Linked DNA regions of Homo sapiens: region 2 is linked to region 1. Evidence: promoter capture Hi-C in 16 types of primary human blood cells and fetal thymus (Javierre and others, 2016). All regions are on one chromosome and are shown on one strand. Each heading gives the region's core, a stretch centred on a gene start or on the middle of the fragment in contact. The rest is flanking DNA. Distances are from core to core; before and after follow the strand shown.

The links. The method cuts DNA at HindIII sites, captures the fragments that hold promoters and counts their contacts. A CHiCAGO score of 5 or more calls a contact.
Region 2: the fragment with the promoter of SMC6 here is called in contact with the fragment with the promoter of PNPT1 in region 1 in 1 of 17 cell types (naive CD8 T cells); the score reaches 6.7 in naive CD8 T cells.

Annotation. Positions count from the first base shown.
Region 1 is chr2:55,692,512-55,695,465 of GRCh38, reverse strand. PNPT1 (polyribonucleotide nucleotidyltransferase 1) reads left to right here and starts at 1,622. Exons shown (of 28, transcript NM_033109.5): 1 at 1,622-1,803. The coding sequence starts at 1,643. RefSeq lists enhancers at 1,433-1,582, 1,613-1,672, 1,683-1,802 and a silencer at 2,373-2,432. The HindIII fragment of the contact is 6,564 bases long and covers 1-2,954 here.
Region 2 is chr2:17,752,190-17,755,101 of GRCh38, reverse strand. It overlaps SMC6 (structural maintenance of chromosomes 6), which reads left to right and starts at 1,292. Exons shown (of 28, transcript NM_001142286.2): 1 at 1,292-1,476; 2 at 2,038-2,124. It overlaps GEN1 (GEN1 Holliday junction 5' flap endonuclease), which reads right to left and starts at 964. Exons shown (of 14, transcript NM_001130009.3): 1 at 757-964. RefSeq lists silencers at 1,177-1,316, 1,457-1,816. The HindIII fragment of the contact is 9,742 bases long and covers 1-2,912 here.

The DNA of each region.
Region 1 (2,954 bases), core at 373-2,872:
AAGTTAATGGTAATCCCTCTATTGGAATGGAAATCCCAAATCAGTAATAATAGCTCATGAAAGCAAGGTGTCAGAAAACTGCTTTGCCAGCAAATCATTTGTCTGTTTAGAGCTCATCATTCTTTTTTCTTTTTTAAATCATCACGGATCAACATTTTTAATTTTTTTTTTTTTTTTTTTTTTTTTTAGATGGAGTCTCGGTCTGGAGTGCAGTGGCGCGATCTCGGCTCACTGCAACCTCCGCCTCCTGGATTCAAGCGATTCTCATGCCTCAGCCTCTGGAGTAGCTGGGATTACAGGCACGCGCCACCACACCGAGCTAATTTTTGTATTTTTAGTAGAGACGCGGTTTCAGCATGTTGGCCAGGATGCCCTGGGTCTCTTGACCTCGTGATCCACCCGCCTCTGCCTCCCAGCGTGCTGGGATTACAGGCATGAGCCACTGCGCCCGGACTTTTTTTTTTTTTTTTTTTTTTTTTTTTTTTGAGACCGAGTTTCACTCTTGTTGCAATGACGCGATCTCGGCTCACTGCAACCTCCGCCTCCCGGGTTCAAGCGATTCCCCTGCCTCAGCCTCCCGAGTAGCTGGGATTACAGGCATAAGCCACCATGCCCGGCTAGTTTTGTATTTTTAGTAGAGACGGGGTTTCTCTGTGTTGGTCAGGCTGGTCTCGAACTCAGGTGATCCGCCCGCCTCGGCCTCCCAAAGTGCTGGGATTACAGGCGTGAGCCACAGCGTCCAGCCAACGTTTTTAATTCTTAAAACTGTGTTTGAATGAGTGTTGGGTTTTTGTTGTTTGGTTTTCTTTGGGGTAAGGCGGTTATCACCTTACACAAAAAATTTACATCATAATATGAAAATGCCCATTGGTTCATTCAAGGAAAAACATAAAGAATTTCTAACAGAATGGATTAATGGGGTGGAAGAAATTTATCCATTCTCTAAAAATTTTTCAAATCCCAAAAACTTTTTTTTTTCATTTTACAAAATATTTACTTCAAACAGTAGCTGGCATTTTGCATTTAAGAGTTCGACCAAAAGGGACAGAAATATAAATTGCTAATTATTAGCAATGGAAATGAAAATGAATCAGAAGTGACAATAAAGATTTCTAAAATTACAAGTCGATGAAAAATGAATTTACTGTAAATTGGTTAACACAAATCGCTGTAGTAACATATCTGCTATGTGAAATTTTTAAAATAAAAACCAGGGCGGAGAAGGGGAGAAGGAGATCTCTTTCCAAGGCCCACCACCCAAATTCTAATTCTTAGTTCACAGATCCAAATAATAATAATGTGTTGTTCTATGACTTCTAGTATTAAAAGTAAATATAAATTTACTCTGCATATTAAACATTTACATTATTCTAGGACTTCTCCTTTAAATTACGATAGTACACACACAAAAACCTTATTTATCTAATTGCCTTTCGTTGGCACATAAAGACAAAGATCGTTTGCAACATAATCGCGTTCTGATAGGTTTGACCCTCTCTAGTCTTCGTAGAAGGTGGCCAAGGTTTCCGTTACCCCGGCGTCCCTCGGGCACCGCGGAAACGAAACTCCATCAGGCTCCGCCCCACGGTCTGCGGAGTGAGCCAATCAGGGCACAGCCTGCGTTGACCGCGTGCCGGGTGTCATGGCGGCCTGCAGGTACTGCTGCTCGTGCCTCCGGCTCCGGCCCCTGAGCGATGGTCCTTTCCTTCTGCCACGGCGGGATCGGGCACTCACCCAGTTGCAAGTGCGAGCACTATGGAGTAGCGCAGGGTCTCGAGCTGTGGCCGTGGACTTAGGCAACAGGTAAGGAGTGACGTGCGTTCACTGTATTGTCATAAGGTGTCTTGTCCAGCCAGCTTGAGCGTATTCATCTCCCAGGGTAGAAACCCGGTATCCCAGCTCTATTTAATCTCTCCTTACCCTAAACCTAAATTCCAAATTTCCCTTTCCGGGTTTGGAATGTGTCTCCTCGGACCCTCCTTCCCGCGCTATGTCGTTCTCTCTGTTGGTGTGTGCCGGGCTTCTTTGCTCCATCCGACTCTGTCCGTCCACCTGACTTCCGATCTCTTTACTTTCCGGGACCACTGGGCTCTTAAGTGGGAAACATTCCACCTAGGAATAACGAGTTGACGTGGGTGAGACGAGGCCCCCCGGGATGCTGGCCCGGACCCTGGAAGCTGGGGCTCTGATGCCCCTCGAGCTGGGACACAGACCTCAGCAGAGGCTCCGGGTGGCTAGTGCACCACGGGTCCCCCACGTCCCACTCCTCGGGCTCCTTCAGCCTCCTCTTCACCAGGAGCCTACCTTGTAGAAGTTGAACACCAGGTCCAGTTCACAGACATTGTGGAAATATTCGTTTAAGACCTGGGAGAGGAAGGCAGAGATGGTAAGAGATGGACAGGGAGAGAGCCACACACGCACAGAGATGGGAACAAGGTCATCAGAAAGAGACAGCAAAAAAAAGAGACCAAGAGGGAGGCAGGGGAGAGAGAGAGACAGTGACAGGGAGAGAGGCAAGGAGACACACAGAGAGAAACAAAAGCAAAGATCGATGCAAAGAGATGGCAAAAGGTCAGGCGCTCACACCTGTAATCCCAGCACTTTGGGAGGCTAAGACGGAAGGATGACTTGAAGTTAGGAGTACAAGATATCATGTCATCCAATCTAATTGATTGCCTAAAGTGTGACCACTATGACCCTGGGTTAGGAGGAAAAGGAAAAGTCAGTTTTTTGAACGCCAGTTATATGATCCTCGCAATCTTTTTAAACCTGTCGTAAAGGTACTATTACCCTCATTTTATAGTTAAGACTACAGAGGCTCAAAAAAGGTTAGATAACTTTCTAAGAGTCTATAAAAAAGTTAGTATTATGGGACTAGGTGGTTTTTGAATTTCTGTTTTTTGCTTACAAAGCCCATACTTTTTTTTAGGGGACCGCTTTTTAAAAAAAAAGTT
Region 2 (2,912 bases), core at 43-2,542, about 38 Mb after region 1:
AAATAAAAAGTGACTTTGATGTAAAGAATTCCATTACCGGAGGCCAGAATTTCAACATCAATTTATTTGGAGGTGGAGTGAGGTGGCAGTCAATGCATTATTTTCCCCACACAGAAGAGAAGATTTTGGAGTATGAAAAGTAGGTTACTTGTTAGGTCAGCATATTCATGGGAAGGGTTGTGTAAAGACTGAAGCGGGAGTGTGGGGTTGAGAAGGGCGCTGAAACCTAAGCCAAGGAAGTTAAGACTTCATTACTTCTGACGTTTATTTAGGGGGTTTACACTCTAGGTTACCGTGGGGGAAAGACTGATTGTAAATAACTACAATACCTTAAAGTAATTACTATAACAGAACTATATCCGAAATACAAGGTTAACACGGAAAAGGGAACACCCAACTGTGCCTATGGGGACCAGGGAGGGCTCTCCCGGGATGGCTTTGAGCGAGGCGTGGGAATTATCCCCATCGCATGCCCGGGGGAAGCACAGCGGGACCCAGCAGCTTCGGCCAAGCGCAAGCGGCCGGAGAACGCGCAGCTTTCCCGAGGCGGGGTGACGCAGGGCCCTCGCGAGTGGAAAACAGGGGCCAAGTCGCGGCCTGGCGGCTCGGTTCGGACTTCCTACTTTATTCAAAGGGAGTCATTGAAGGCGTTTTCGGAGGAGCAGCGAACAAAGAGCTCGTCCGTAAGCCAGATGGTCAAAGGAATCAGTGGGAGGACCCGGGCGGCGCCGTCTCTCCACGTCCCGCGGGACTTACCCGGACAACCCTTCCTCCTTGGCTCTGGAAGAAGCCCCTTCGTCATTTACCAGTTTGGCCTGAATCCTAACTACTGTGCCTCCAAATTTCTGAATTTTCTCAAAAGGAAAAAAAAAAAGGAAAGTCCTCTTTCTTTACCCAAGCAAAGACTAGCTCCCCGGGCTCAACCGCCAGGCCCAGGAGCACCAGGAAGCGTTTCGAATCCAGCGCCGGGCCCGCGCGGCCCCGCCTCTTCCGGGAAGTGACTGACCCCTTTCCCCCAATGGGGCCCGCTCGGCTTTCCCTTGCCGGCTCCCAGCCGGCCTAGCGGACGCATGCGTAGACCAGCTGCCGGGGGCGCTCAATTATCTTTCCCTTTTACTTAGGCAAATCACTCACCTCCCCCGAGTCCGGTCACTGCGGAGCCGCCCGTGCCTACCAGCTTCCCCCACCCGCTAAGGGGCACTTCCGGCCTCTCAGACTCCGGCGGCGCGAAACCCCGCAACTGCGCAGGCGCGGGCGGAGCCCGAAGGGAGGGAGGGCGGGGCGCAGGCGCGGTTAGTACCGCGGTGGGCGCCGGGGCTCCCGGGAATCTACCTTCTCCTGCGGCCGGCACGCGGTTCCCAGGGGGCCAGCGGCGGTCAGCCGAGGTCGAGACGCCCGCAGGGTGGCCTTAGCGGCCGGTCGTACCACGGCAGCCCCGCCGATCAGGTTCCTTTGGGAGACTTCGACTTGTTGGCGGTAGGGTGAAGGCGCGCGCTGTCGCTTTCCCTTGCTCCGGGGTTCATCCTCCGCCCGCTGCCCCCTTGGCTGGCGACCCCCAGCCACCCGGGAGAGGCAGGGTCAGCTGAGCTGCGGCGGTGTTCATGGTCGTCCTTGCGGGCCCGGGCGGGAGATGTCCGTTCCTCGGGCGGGTCGGGCGGCCGGCGGCACCTTCGCGCGCTCTCCGAGGCGGCACCGGTCTCCTGAGCCGCGGGAAACCTGGCGTCTGCTCCGGGCCGTCCCCTCCCAGGCGGCCGTCCCCTCCCAGGCGGCCGTCCCCAGACTCTCCCGGGCTGTGGCGAATAACTGTAAAGCGGGGAGAGGTCTGGGGAAAGCTGGGGTAGGGAGTGGCTCTTAGCATGAGTCTGATGATATCTCGCAGGCGGCAACTGGTGTGTTTAAAGGGTGTATGCAAAGATCACTGAAATCGGATTTGTCATTAAAGCCCAGTTTTACGAAAATGCAAATTGTATTACCTAGAAAAATTAACATGTGTTCAAAGGTTTACTGATGGCATTTCTCTGCCCTCATTTCTTACAGAAATGAACCGGAGAAGAATCCCAATTGGGAATTGCGGAAAACAGGACTCTAGGGTAGAGAAAGGTTGTAGAACCAATAGGGTTTGAGGTAATACTGTGAAAATTCTTAGAGCAATCATTTGGTGTTTGAGCCCTCAAGACAGAAGTTTTGTGAGCGCTTATTACTCTGCATATGTCACGAGTAGTAGATTAAAAGCCAGTGTTTTAAAGGCAAACTTCTCAGTAATATATATTCAAAGGAAAAAAGAAAAACCCAAATCTCCTGACTTTTATATGGTTGCAGTGTGATCTTTTAACATGTACAATAGTATATACAGTGGCATGCAGTTTGTTCCATGGGTGTGTGGGTAGAGAGGGAACATATTAGAACTTCTATTTAGATTTATTTCATTTGATTTCTACGTGAAACATAGGGTATTAATTTTATGTTGGAACATGTATTTCAAATTTCTTTTGCTTAATGGGTGCAAGTACAAAACGTTTGGAGGCCACTAGTATATTGCCTAAAAGCGTGTATTTATATCACAAAAAGCCAGAATTGTGTGACTCTGAGCAGGTTGGTACCACCTCTTTAAGTTTCAGTTCTTCTTATGCAAGTTGGAAGAAATAATACAGTTATCAGTGCATCCTCTGTATCCGTGGACTCAATCAAGGGACTGAAAATATTTCAGAGGAAAAAAAGTGGATGGTTGCACAGACTTTTTTTTGTTCTTGTCATTATTCCCTAAACAGTACAGTATAACAACTATTCACATAGCATTTGCATTGTGTTAGGTTATATAAGTAATCTAGAGATAACTTTTAAGTATGTGGGGAGGTTATATGCAAATATGACACCATTTCATATAAGGGACTTGAGCATCTGTGGATTTTGGT